Regions from separate parts of the Homo sapiens genome. Here region 2 is linked to region 1. Evidence: promoter capture Hi-C in 16 types of primary human blood cells and fetal thymus (Javierre and others, 2016). All regions are on one chromosome and are shown on one strand. The core of a region is centred on a gene start or on the middle of the fragment in contact, and the rest is flanking DNA. Distances in the headings are between cores, read along the strand shown. Region 1 holds the start of ACACB (acetyl-CoA carboxylase beta). Region 2 overlaps MYO1H (myosin IH).

Region 1 (7,225 bases), core at 3,482-5,981:
TTCCTTTCCTTATCTATGTAGGGAAGGGTTTATCATTCTACATTTTGTGGTCAGCAAGCTGGCTTTCACGGGAGGAGGATGCATGGTCGATTTGCCCTCTGGTAACTTTGGGATCTTCCTCTAAACAACAGTGGACTCCCTTAGCCAAGGAAGAAGTGAAGGGATAATTGTGCTTACACCAGTTAGCTTTTCACACTTCTCTCTCTCCCGGTGCAGCACTGCCGGTAGGGGGAGCAGTGAGCTCCAAGTTTCCAGGAATAATTCAAAACACAATTATTTTATATTTTAAAATATAAAATGTATATTTTAAATATATATACATACATTTCTATATAATATATACAAAAGTTCAATATACGTATATTGAATATATATGTATATAAGTTCAATATATATGTATGTATATTCAATATATATGTATGTATATATGTATATATATTCAATATATATGTGTATATATTGAACTTTAGTCATGTGGTGACACTTTAAACAGTACACAGAGCAGCTTCTGGGTCCATGACCCTCCAAAAATTTAATTACTGATTCTTTAGAAACTAGGCAACTCAGCCAGGTGTGGGGGCTCACGCCTGTAATCCCAGCACTTTGGGTGGCCGAGGTGGGTGGATCACCTGAGGTCGGGAGTTCAAGACCAGCCTGACCAGCATGGAGAAACCCTGTCTCCACTAAAAATACAAAATTAGCCAGGCGTGGTGGCACATGCCTGTAATCCCAGCTACTTGGGAGGCTGAGGCAGGAGAATCACTTGAACCCGGGCGATCGCACCATTGCACTCCAGACTGGGCAACAAGAGCATAAGAGCAAAACTCCGTCTCAAAAAAAAAAAAAAAAAAAAACCAACCAGGCAACTCATTTTGATGAACTCTTAGCTATGTGGTAGTTGCTTTTTTCATGTGTCAAGTCTGCTATATTCCTGCACTCAGTATGCAAAGATGCATAAAAGGCAGTCTTAGCCTTTTAGGTCAGCGGTTGGCAAACTTTCTGTGAAGGGTCAGGTGGTAAATATTTGAGGGTTTGCAGTTACCCGTTCTCCGTGGGAACTGCTCAACAACTCACTGCAGAGAAAGCAGCCGTGGGCAAAACGTACAGGAACGGGCGAGGCTGTGTTCCAATAAAACTTTATTATTTATGGACACTGAAATTAGATTTTAATATGATTTTCATGTGTCACGAAATCTTTTTTTTTCCTAAGCATTTAACAAATGTAAAAACCACTCCTAGCTTGGGAGCTATTGGAAAACAGGCATCTGGAACCACAGTCTGCAGACCCCTGTGTGTACTCACTGTCAGTGCGGTGGGAACAAAAAGGCAGCAACGGCTGGGTCAGCCCAGGAAAGAAGACATTTCCCAGTGGAGAGAATGTCTGAGTGGATATTGAACTTTCCAGGCCACAAAGAGGAACAAGAGCATTCAACACTGAGGAGCCTGCCTCTGCAAAGGCAGGACCCACATGCTGGATGTGGAGCTGGATGGTTCCACGTGGCAAGGTTTGGGAGGCTTCTGAGAACCTGGCCTAATGATTCCTGTTTCCTCCCTTTTCAGGTGAGTTAGGGAGATCTCTGACAGCTTTTGGAATTGGTAACACAAGGAAGTCAGTTATTAGCAAATGTTGTACTGGAAACGTCCAGTTATAAAATAATTAATTGTGTGAAAGTCACTGCCTGCTTTTGATCTACATCCAGCAGGGGAAGGTCAGGGACTATAAATTGTTTGCATTTTTTAAAGATAGACTTTAGCATGTTGCTAGTATGCTTGCATTATTAGATAATACATCTCTGTTCAAATTCACTTTCTGCTTCAGTTTGCTTCTCATATAAAAGTCTTCGCAAGTATGTTTGGTGGAGAAGCAAACTTTTTGGCGTATGCGTGTGGTGTTGGCTTTTCATCCTTGCCAAACCTTCAAGATTTGCAAGGAAAAACAGGTTGCAGGGAGGTGCTCTGGGTTACTTTGAAAAGACCTCACATGCTGACTTGTGCTGACTCAAGCTGAGGAAAGCTAGAACATTCCTCTGCTGGAGATGGCCTCCTTGTTTAGAGTCCTTCTGACACTGTAATTTGGGTCTGACAACAGGAAGTTCCTTTGTAGTTTAAGTCAATGGGAACCAATTTTTTTTTCTTTTTTTTGCGATAGAGTCTCACTCTGTTTCTTAAGATGGAGTACAGTGACTCAGTCATGGCTCACTGCAGCCTCAACTTCCTGGGTTCAGGTGATCCTCCTGCCTCAGCCTCCTGAGCAGCTGGGACCACTGGTATGCACCACCATACCTGGCTAAGTTTTTAATAGAAATGGGGTCTTGCTAAGTTGCCCAGGCTAGGGAACCAGTTTTTAAGTTTTTGAAATATGCTTGGAAATATAAATATTGGTGAGCGGAGCAGACCAGGAGATCAATAATTTATGTTCTCTGCTTGTTAGTTGTGTATATAGCATGTTCTTTTGTCTCTCTTAATGATGTTTGGGGTGAGGGTGTGGGAGAGGAAGGTAGGGAGCCTTCCAACAAGAAGCTAGTGCTCCTCCAGCCTAGAGAAGCTAAAACATGCAAAGCCAGACCCCATCCCTGGAAATTCTGATTTAATTGGTGGGGGAAGGCATGTGAATTCTCACAGAGGGTCCGGTTTGCAGCAGGACTGGTGATTTCTTTCCAGGTGCCTTGTTTTGTTAGACCATGTGGTCACTTAATAATTTTTTTTGGGCCAGGTACAGTGGCTCATACCTGTAATCCCAGTGCTTTAGGAGGCAAGGCAAGAAGATCGCTTTAGGCCAGGAGTTCAAGACCAACTTGGGCAACATAATGAGACCTTGTCTTTAAAAAAAAAAAATTTTTTTTTTTTTAATTAGCCAGGGGTGGTGTGTGCCTGTAGTTCTAGCTACTTGGGAAGCTGAGGCAGGAGGATCATTTGAGCCCAGGAGTTCGAGGCTGCAGTGAGCTATGATCATGCCACTGCACTCCATCCAGCCTGGGCAACAGAGCAAGATCCTATTTCTAAAACAAAACAAAACAAAACAAAAAATGTAACTTGATACCTGTGACTTTCTGAAACTAACAGCTGTTTGAAGAAATATATTTCTATTACCGTTCTTGTGTTTGATGGAAAGAGTTTATGAATAACTTTGGTTTCAAGCCTTCCAATTATATTCTGGAAAATACCTGTGTCTTAAAGAGATAGTGTCTAGGGAGAACTGAATCACTGCAGAGTTCTTCACCTGTATGTGTGGGTATGTCTAGTCTTTTTGCAAGTAATGAATTTCATTAGAAAGATATTAAGTGCTTGTCATGAGCAAGCCCCTGTGCCAGAAACTCAATATAAATCATTTCATTTTCTCACCCATATGGTGAAGTAGTTGATGAGGACACTGAAGCTCAGCCATTTGCTCAAAGTCATGGCTAATGGAGGGAGGATTCAAACCCACATCAGCTTGATTTCAAAGCCTAATAGTCCTGCCACTGTCAACACCCTGCCTAGATCATGATTATTTGGAATCACTGGGAAAGAATTTTTTTTTCATGAAGTTAGAAGCCTAAGAATTTTTTTCAATGGAATTTTATAAAAATGTCCTTGAATCACAGATGGCTCTCCCTGGAAACATAGGTTTGTTTGAGAGTCACCTCTTTTATTGTCTTAATAAATAGACTAAGAGCCATCACAAGGGCTACTGTGGCTAGAGAACATATGACTCGGGCCGGGCATTGTGCAGGCATTTGACCTGCATTCCTTCACCCCGGTTCCTGTAACATGTACCTGGTGCTGTGGGGTTACAGCTGATAATGCTGAGGTTTCCAGAGCACATGCTTCCAAGTCCAGTGGAGAAAATCCCAAGAAGTCCAATATTCAATGACTGTTCCTTATTGCAAAATAAGCCCAGAAACAAAGTAGCTGTGAACAGGCTGCACCAGCCCCAGCAGCAATTTCCATTTAAACCATTTTGCACAGATCCCGTGCTCAGCGCTCTCGCCAGTTTCTCCACTTGCTGTTTAGTAAGGCCATCATTGTTGGCAGGAAGTGGGTTCCACCTTCCCTGTTGCCTGAGCACAATGTGCTCCTATGTGGTCTCCACTTTCCTGCTGCCTAGTTGGCTGGGCTTCTCCAGCTGGGCCTTGGAGGCGACCTTTGTCCCACATGCCAGCCCTCCCCACGTTGCAGAACACTATGTAACTGCAGCGTGTGCTGAATTTCCTCTTCTGTGCTCAACCCTAGCAAGAGCCAGTCAACCCTGAATGAGAATGTGGCAATGGAGCTGTTTTTTTCTTTTATCCCCAAGTCACAAGAAATTGGAAACATTCCATTAAGTGGCGTGATTTGAGAGGGTTTCGCCAAATCTTTTCAGGGGAGAGAAGCCAGGTGACCTGATAGCGATCACCTTCCCATTCACGGTTTTCAATGGGGGCTTGTTTCTCAAATGACCAACACCTGTAGGCAGTTAATTTTCAGCATGTCACAGGAGGGCCCAGATGACTTTCTGCCTACTGCTTACGACAACATGGACTTTAGATGCCTCATGGCTTCAACAGCTAAGAATTATGAAATAAAGCGAGTTATGGGATTAAAAGGCAGATAGCAGAACTCTCCCAGGAGTAGCCAGGGCTGCACAAGTGGTTTGACGTGGGATCTTTCTCATCTTTGCCCCGGGTTGTTGCTGCTTTGAAGGTTAAGTGCTCCAGGGATATTTTTAAACAGCAGGGGCTGATTAATCTAAAAGTGACATTTGCAGTCCCCAGAGTAAGCAGCTAGCAGGCTTAGATTCAGGCCCTCAGCAAACAAGGAACCTGGAAAATGTAACCCTGAATGCACGGTGGGGAGGACATGGCAAGAGAAAAGCGGCAGGAATAAAGTGGTAAGTCAGCTCGCCCCTCCCCGGGGTCCGGACCATTCTGCCAACGTCCAGGTAAATTCGAACCCAATGTATAGTGAGAGCAGACCCTGTCTGAAGGCATGCACTTGGGGTCCCCGGGGAAAAACGACTCCCGTCATGTTTGAAGGAAGCTAATCAGAAGAGCTCGAAATGTAACGCAGATGAAAGAGAAGGGCCTTTCTTTGCTTCTATAAATGGTGGTGTGGATCCCTGGACATGCTCCCATATAAGTTCCACAACGTTTTATAAACAATTCTGTTTTTTGCCTCCAAAGCTACTGTCTTAAGGAATAGTATTCTGTTTCTGTTTCCTCAAATGGTTGTTCTTTTTTTTTTTTTTTTTTTTTTTAAAGCAGACTAAGGCTGGGCACGGTGGCTCATGCCACCCAGCACCTTGGGAGGCAGAGGCAGGTGGATCACTTGAGGTCAGGAGTTCGAGACCAGCCTGGCCAACATGGCGAAACCCCATCTGTACTAAACACATAAAAATTAGCCAGATGTGGTGATGGGCACCTGTAATCCCAGCTACTTGGGAGGCTGAGGCAGGAGAATCGCTTGAACCCAGGAGGTGGGGGTTGCAGTGAGCTAAAATTGCGCCACTGCATTCCAGCCTGACTGACAGAGCAAGACTCTGTCTCAAAAAAAAAAAAAAAGAAAAGAAAAAGAAAAAAAGGAGACTAAGAGTAAAGCGTTTGTAGTGGTCCTATATCCTATATTTCTAGGAAGACATGACTTTCTTTCAATGTTGAAAAAATGCATTCCAAAATAATATGCAAGTTAAAAAGTCACTCAGCACCGTGCAAAAGTCTCCTTGCTGTTATTCCTGTCTAACCCTCCTCCTCCAGGTAGCCACTGTGCACATTTTGGTATAAACCCCCCAGACCTTTTATTCTGTACACTCACACTGTACACAACTCTCTCCCTCATGTCTATTGTGATTACTTTTATTTTTTAATATCAATGGGCATCCATATAGGTTGGGTGACCAACCATCCCACTTTGCCCAGGACCGGGGAATTCCCGGGACATGGGACTTGCAATTTAAAAACTGAAAGGTGAAGATATTATTATTATCATTATTATTTGAGATGGAGTGCTCACTGCAAGCTCCGCCTCCTGGGTTCACGCCATTCTCCTGCCTCAGCCTCCCAAGTAGCTGGGACTACAGGCACCCACTACCACGCCCGGCTAATTTTTTTTGTATTTTTAGTAGAGACAGGGTTTCACTGTGTTAGCCAGGATGGTCTCGATCTCCTGACCTCAAGTGATCCGCCCGCCTCGGCCTCCCAGAGTGCTGGGATTACAGGCATGAGCCACCGCGCCTGGCCAAAGATATCATTTTATAAATTGCATGTTTCTGCTAATAGTGACATGGAGTTCTTTACAAGATTTCTTTTTATGACTTCTCCAAGTTTTAAGTGGAAAGACCCAGCCAATCCTAATTCATGTGATTTAGAGATGAAAATATCTCTAATCTGTAACTTTCTTTCAGAAGCTCTTAAGAGTTTTATTTGCTCCTGCTCAGGTGTTGTGTAAACTCGCTCATACTTTCAACACCTTTAGGTCTGAGACAGAAATTTGAGTATTACATTACATGAGATACCCAGTCTTCATGGGGAAATAAACATTTTAATCTTTTGAAATGGAGGTTTCCTTGAAGTCTTATCCCAGTAGAAACTTTGACCTTGTTCTTTTTTTTTTTTTTTTTTTGAGACAGAGTCTCGTCCTGTCACCCAGGCTGGAGTGCGATGGCACAATCTCAGCTCACTGCAACCCCTGCCTCCCAGGTTCAAGCAATTCCTCAGTCTCAGTCTCCCGAGTAGCTGGGATTGCAGGCAAGCACTACCACGCCCAGCTAATTTTTGTATTTTTAGTAGAGATGGGGTTTTGCCATGTTGGCCAGGCTGGTCTCGAACTCCTGACCTCAAGTGATCTGCTCACCTTGGCCTCCCAAAGTGCTGGGATTACGGGCATGAGCCACTGCACCCGGCCTGGAATACCTTGTTCTCATGCTTCCTCTGAATTTGTGATTCAGTGACTTGTTACTTCAAAGTAGAGTTCACCTGTACCCAGGGAAACCAGGAAACAGAGTTAGAAATATTGCATTTGATCGGAAAAATGTATGCACATTTCACATCCTATCCTAATAGATCTCTCTGTTTGCAGTGATAATAGTAAATTTATGACCGTAGAGTAAGGTGATTTTCTAGGAAGATAGACCGTGTTCATTTATTCCAGGAATCCAGGGATCCTTGTATCAGAGAATCCAGGCTGGGCACAGCAGAGAAACCAAGGTATTGATTATTGGGTAGTTGGCATACCCCAGGTATGCCATAATAATTATGGGATCTCACATAAT
Region 2 (7,225 bases), core at 2,881-5,380, 270 kb after region 1:
AGTGGAAAAGTTCTGTTCCGCATGTGTATTAGTCAGGATAAGCAGTCTTCAGCTACAATAACAAACAGCCCCAAAACTCAGAAGTTTCCCATAACAGGAGTTTATTTCTTACGTACACAAAGTCTACTGTGGGTGTTGATGACTCTTCAAGACATCTCTCCTCCATGTGATGGCTCAGGAATCCAGGCTGTTTTGATCTTGTGGCTTGTCCATTCAGCAAAAGAAATTCTCAGTCATTGCAGTATCAAAGAAGTTCTAATAACACTGGAAGGGTCTTACACAAATGTCACTTCTATTTACAGCCAGTTGGCCGGAAGTAGTCAAGCAACTCCACCTAACTGCAAGGGAGTTTGTAAATGTGGGGAAGTCCACGGAATAGCTGGCAGGCATTTCTGCCTCTACCATGGCATCTCACCACCTTTCCACATACTGTGGCCTCCCTGTCATCTCCCCACCCCGACTCCACATACTGGGTCAAGCATTAGATTATGTAGAAGATGATCAGATCATCACTGAGTACATGATACTTCCAAAATGATGGTTCTGGTTTGAGTGTTTCCTTGAATCCCCTGCTTTTAGATGAGCAACAGGTCTAAACCATCCAAGACAAAGAGTGGCTTGCTGCAGAGGCTGCAAAATAATGTCCTGCAAGGGTAAATTGTACGACAGGACTGGGTATGTAATTCCAAACTTCTGACTTAAATAATCGGAAGTTCTGGCAACACAGGCCCTATATTTGTGCCTGATGTCAACCAGCTGGAGCCAGACAGTAGCTACACACCAGAGATGGCCATTCATTCCTGAGTCTAACCCAGTCCCCATCACCTGGCAGCTTGACTCAGTCATGGTACCTGCTGGAACCCTGTAACAGGCAGAATCTGTGATCCCTGCACCATGGTTATGCACAGTTAGGATCCTCCACAGTTTTATCACCCCAAAGATGGAGTTCTTTCTTAGATGTAACTTAATTTGATTTAATTTAATTTTCTTAGGTGTAATTGAAGATCTCTTTAATTTCCTCCCTCTTATTTAATCTGGATTTAATGCTCTCTTTATAAGTCTCTTAGTCATCTTTTTGGTCAAGGCTGAATCACTCCAACTTCTTGATTACCCTTCTCCTTTATGTCCCAATATTCATCCCTTTGATGGTCCATGTCACTCTTATTGGGACACTCTCGTTTTCTCACGCCCTTTAAAAGATAACTGGAAATCAACAAAGGAATCGAGGTGTCAGAACTGAAATATTGCAATAAACAAAACTCTAGTCTGAAGTGAATGGAGTCTGCTTTGACCCTGGCAAGTTAAAAATCATTGTCATGTTCCTTAATCTACAAGGTTTTGTCAAATTTCTTTGGGCTTCAAGTCACATCAGTTCCTAGGCTGACTGCAGGAGTACCCCACCCTCCCATCCTTAGGACCAGGCTAAGAGAGAAATTTGGTTAATCTCTGCATCCTCCACCTGCAGCAACCTGACTGCAGTAATATTTCTGGGTGCAGCTCCAGACATTATTTCAGACACCAACCCACCTCCAATTTAATAGAGGCTCATTGACTCCTAATCAGCAGACTTGCTTTACTATGTTTCTATTTCTAATAATCGTGATTATTGATACTAATGATGACAAAAGCAAGCACTCACTAAATTTAAATTGTGCCTGGCAGGGTTCCATGTGCTTTACATGGTTCTGGTGAAACTGACAACCCTATGAGGTAAGTACAATTATAATTCCGTTTTATAGAGATGAAACAAGAGACTTGGGACTCTCCCAAGATTATACTGCCAGGAAGCAACAGAGATAGGATTTGAACTTGGAAATGCTCGTGTTCCAACGTCTTAATCATTATGCTATGCTATATGTGGTACAGCATGGAAATATTTGGGATTACTAAAATGTTTCTTTTTTTCTTTCTTTCTTTTCTTTTTTTTTTTTTAAGACAATGTCTCACTCTGTTGCCTAGGCTGGAGTGTAGCAGTGCAATCATGGCTCATTGCAGCCTCAGCCTTCTGAGGTTCATGCGATCCTCCCACTTCAGCATGAGCAGCTGGGACTACAGGCACGCACTGCCACACCCAGCTAGTTTTCATATTTTTAGTAGAGACAGAGTTTCAACATGTTACTCAGGCTGGTTTCAAACTCCTGGGCTCAAGTGATCCGCCTGCCTTGGCCTCCCAAAGTGCCAGGATTACAAACACGAGCCTACCACGCCCAGCCTGAAATCACTAAAATATTGTTTGATCTAAATGCATTGTTTTGAATGTTAGGTTGCTAGTGATTAAGGCTCTTCTAGCTCCATTTGGCTAGTGTAGGGAGACATCTGGTGGCCATTCTGTTTTTTAAAACTTTTTTTATGGAAAACTTCAAATTTATGCAAAGTAAACAGAATAGTATCATAAATCCCCCTCTACCCACCACCTAGCTTTAACAATTAACATTCTGCCATTCCGTTTATATTCATACCTCCAGCCAATCCCTACCTCTTCCCCACTTATTTTTTACGGTTGTTTTTCAAAAATAAAATTTACATATAGTGAAATGCACACAATTTTAACAGTTTATCTTGACCGATAGATATACTCATGTAACCCACAGCCCTATCATGATATGGAATGTTTTCATCACTCCAAAAATGTCATTTGCCTGACAACTCCTCAACTAGGCAACAATTGTTCTGATTTTTCACTGTGGATTAGTTTTGCTTGTCCCAGTGTGCCATATCAATGGAATCCTACAGTACGACTCTTTTGTGTCTGGGCTCTTTCACTCAGCATAATGTCTGTGAGAGTCATCCATGCTCTTGCGTGTACCCGTTATTTCTCTTTTATTGCTGTCCTCCTTCTATTGTACAGATGGGCCACAGCCATTCTCCAGTTGATGGGGATTTGGATTGTTTCCAGTTAGGGGCCGTTCTGAATAAAGTTGAGCATGAGTTGAACTTCATGTTCAAGTCTTTTTGTAGACATATGTTTACATTTCTCTTGTGTAAATACTTAGGAGTGGAATCGCTGGATCAAAGAATAGAGGCATGGTTAACTTCATTAGAAACTGCCAGATCTTTTTCCCAAAGTGATTCTCTTTGCATTCCTACCAGAAGTGCGAGAGAATTCTGTCTGCTCCGCATCCTCACCAGTATTTGGTGTTGTCAGTGTTTTTAATTTTAACTATTGTGGTGGTATCTCATTGTGGTTTTAATTTGTGTTTCCCTGATGACTAACAATGTTGACCATTTTTCTATGTGTGTATTGCCAATTTGTCTATCTTCCTTTGTGAAGTGTCTATTCAAGTCTTTTGCCAAATTTTCATTGGGTTTGTCTTTTTATTATTGGACTGTAGGTGTCTTTTATTCTGGATACAAATTCTTTGCGTCTGTATAATTTAGGAATATTTTCTGCTGTTCTGTGACTTGCCTATTTTCTTAACAGTGTCTTCTAATGAGAAGCTTTATATTTGGTGAAGTCTGATTTCTTATTTTGTGTCTTTTATTATTATTTCTTCCTGGCTCTCATCTAAGAAAACTTTGCCTTCCCCTGGTTACAAAGATGGTCCCCTTGTTTACTTCCAGTAGCTTTATATAGATTTTAAATTTGCATTTAGGTCTAAGATGCATCTCAAGTTCGTGTGTGTGTGTGTGTGTGTGTGTGTGTGTGTGTGTGTGTGTGTGTAGTGTAGTGTAATGTAATATAGGGACTGAAATGCATTTTTACTTTCTTTTTCTATTTATATATTTTTAAGTAGAGATGGGAATCTCCCTGTGTTGCCCAGGCTGGTCTCCAACTCCTGGCTTTAGACAATCCTCCTGCCTCAGCATCCCAGTGTGCTGGGATCACAGCTGTGAGCCACCACACACAACTGCAATTTTTTTTCTTTATAAATATCTAGTTGTTCCTGCACCATTGGATGGAAATGTTTTCCATTTCTGTGCTGAATTGTTTTGGGACCTCTACTGAAAATCAATTGAGACGCAGTCTTATTAAACACAGTCTTATTCTAGCTTTGTTTTTCTTTTGCAAGGTTAATTTGGCTATGCTAGGACCTTTGCATATCCATATGTACCAGTTGTCAATTTATTGCCTCTCAGATCCAAATTCACCCTTCATTACCTGCTGAGCAATAACCAACTGCACGCTTTAGGCATTTCTCCTTAAAGTGAACACAATGTCATTTTTGTCACTAGAGGGCACTGGAGGGACATTGCAAAGGCAGGCCGCTTCTCTTCCTGATGTCCTTTGCTATGTTTTGCTTTTTCTTGTTTTCAGACTGTACATTCTGCTGCACGTGGTATGTGGGGGGGACACACACTAACCGTGTGCCCAGAGCACATAGTCTCTCAGTGACCTCACAGCTCTGGCCAAGGGCCTGGTGACCACTTTGTCACAGCCCTCCTGATGCAGACATTACACACTCCAGGCTTCATACCTACTCCTGTTCCCTCTCCCAACGCACACCTGCCCTCTGGCCGCAGCTTGCCTGAGCCCTGGAAGGTTGATTTCCTTGGCCCCCTCCATGGTCTCCCATCCAGCAGCGCGGGTGCTCAGGAAGGTCATGCCTGGTGCCTGCCCAGTGACCGAACCAGCTCTGGCCCTGGTATCCTGGTGAGATTCTTTGCCATCCAATGGGCTGTAGCCACACCTTCTCCAGTGACATCTGAAGCCCATCCTTGGAGAGGAACACTCCAAGTTTGTCCTTCCTTAAATATTCCTCTGTAGCAAGAATTTCCCTTTCTGGCCCAAACTCCTCACCACCCATGTGAGAATTACAAAGTGAGTTTACACAATTAACACTTATTGAAATAAAGAAAAATTAATTTTAAAAAAAGAAAAAATTCAAGCTTGACTAATCAACATAAAGGAAACATTAATTTAAAAAAAACATTTATTGAGTCCATGGTTGTCAGGAAAGCAAGTCTGGGTATGTTGTCTAGGTTCATTTTCTGGCTGCGTCTTTTGGCAGATTTTGGGCGTGGCTTATGACATTCCTATGCCTCAGTTTTCTCATCTGTAGAATGGGCATCATAATAGTATTTCATAGGGTCAGAATGAAGATCAAATGAAACAGTATAAGTCAAGTGTTTAGAATAGTACCTAGCAGTAAATACTTGGTTCCTATCAGCTGCTGCTATTCCTATTTTTTATGATTATGATCTTGTATCCCCAACCATATTGTAAACTCTAAGTGAAGACGGCATAATTTAATGCTGGCTCTCTACTATCCCAGGGTTTAGCATCTTGTTATTTCCATGCATTAGACGTGTAATAGATATTACCAAATAGATGAGCTGCTGAAGAATGTTCTATTTCCCGTAGAAAGAAGACGTGAGGAGGAAACACATCCGTCTGCACATGGAAGGGGCGCTGACTGCCCGGGACAAGGTCGGGGTTCAGGATTTTGTGCTATTGGACGCGTACACCAGCGAATCTGCCTTTGTCGACAACCTCCGCAAGCGTTTCAGCGAGAACCTCATATACGTAACGTGACCCACTTCTCAGCTGTTTTTCTAGGGTGGTTGTTCCCTTCTTGCCTTCACGACTTTGATGAGTGTGAATAATAGCACTCTATTAGGTTAGACATTAAAGGGAGATACTGAGGCGCCACTCTTAGATGCACTTCGATCCTTTGTGCTAAGACGTTTATGGCTGCCCGTGACAGAGACCCAACTTACACCAGCCTAAGTCACTAAAAGGAATCTGTCCATGTCTGTTACTGTAGGTCCCGGGACTAGATCTAGGGTTTCAGACAATGTCTGGCAACTCCTTCTCAATCTCTGCTCTGCTTTCTTAGGCATCCATTTCTTTCTCAAGTGCATGGCAGCAAGATGGCTGCCCTCAGATCCAGGCTGTCATTTTATCAGCTCAGGGTTGCTGCAGAGAAGCGAGCCAATACTCTGGGGATAAGCTCTAGTAAATGGCCCAAGTTGACATTGATCAGCTCTGATTGGCCCACTTTCGGTCATGTGCCTGTCTCTGAACCAATCCCATGGCTAGAAATGAAGACTATTCTGATTGGCCAGGCTCTTACCAGGCCTGCCCCTGAAGGTGAGGGGTGGAGTTGGAGCCCTGGACGGTATAGGCAGAGAGCTGGGGAAGAGGGTTCCCCAAAGGACTCTGTTGGGAGAAAGGGGCAGAGATACCAAGCAGGCAAAAATAAGAGCTGTCCACCACACCCCACGAATGGTCAAGGGTCGAGAATGCAGCACTTACCAAACTCTTCTCAGATTGATCTTGTCACATCTAGTTTTTATTCAAAAGCTAGTTTTCGTTAAATTCCCATTTATCACCATACTCTGATTTGAGGGTCGTTTTTCAGGTAAATTCCTCTAGGGTAAACTTCATAGTGTCCCTGTGTGTGTCGTGGGTGTTATTAAAATTATTTAATTTTTTGAGATTTTATTAGCTTTTTGCTAAGAGTAAATTAGACAGAAGTGGTTTAAAAATAATTGTCTTATAGCTATTTTGTTTGTAATGCTGCTCGTGACTTAATCTATATGTTGAAACCAAGGATACCAGAAGAAGTAAACAAGGTGTTTCTTAGAGTACATATCCTAGAGCCTAACTTTCATAATTATCACCCTTAATTGTAGAAATAGAAAAACTAATTTTATGTACAGGAAAAGGAAAAAATAGCATGGTACAGAGAAGTACAAATGGCATGACAGGATCATTGCGATTAAGCTAAATGTTTCTGATTTGAACGGATACATTTCAGAAACTGTCTTCCACCCTGAATTTCTACTGATTGAAGTAATATGGGGTTTTATTGAAACTTCTCTGCTTTGGTTCTCTGTTTGATTTTTGTCCTGGAGATTGGAGAACGATTTTAGCGTAATCTTTTTTTCTTTTTTTTTTTTTTGAGTTGGGTCTTGCTAAGTTGCCCAGGCTAGTCTTGAACTCCTGGGTTCAAGCACTCCTCCTGCCTCAGCCTCCCACGTAGCTGGGATTACAGGCACACACCACCACACCCAGCTATTTTAGCATAATCTTAATATATACTTTAGTGCATCCTGTATTTGAAACAGCTACACACTGAGAATCTGAGAATACCAGATGTATTTTCCAAGGAGTATATTAATTTTTTTTCTATATAAGAGCTTGGAGCTCTTTGTTTATTCATAATTGTATTTCAAAAGCCTATGTTAGTGGTTATATTATAAATATAAGTAAGTACTTGAAAAACTTGAATATGAGTAGAATTTAATGTTGAAATCTAGGAATATAAGTGCCAGTAGCGGG

The links. The method cuts DNA at HindIII sites, captures the fragments that hold promoters and counts their contacts. A CHiCAGO score of 5 or more calls a contact.
Region 2: a contact is called between a fragment that was not itself captured here and the fragment with the promoter of ACACB in region 1, in 2 of 17 cell types (M0 macrophages and endothelial precursors). The highest score is 6.9, in M0 macrophages.

Annotation. Positions count from the first base shown.
Region 1 is chr12:109,111,856-109,119,080 of GRCh38, forward strand. It overlaps ACACB (acetyl-CoA carboxylase beta), which reads left to right and starts at 4,732. Exons shown (of 53, transcript NM_001093.4): 1 at 4,732-4,849. It overlaps LOC105369974 (a long non-coding RNA gene), which reads right to left. Exons shown (of 3, transcript XR_945332.3): 3 at 6,799-6,929. The HindIII fragment of the contact is 11,769 bases long and covers 1-7,225 here.
Region 2 is chr12:109,383,381-109,390,605 of GRCh38, forward strand. It overlaps MYO1H (myosin IH), which reads left to right. Exons shown (of 32, transcript NM_001101421.4): 2 at 5,303-5,464. Among named protein-coding and RNA genes, the nearest start is that of LINC01486, 28 kb to the left of the region's middle. The HindIII fragment of the contact is 1,389 bases long and covers 3,437-4,825 here.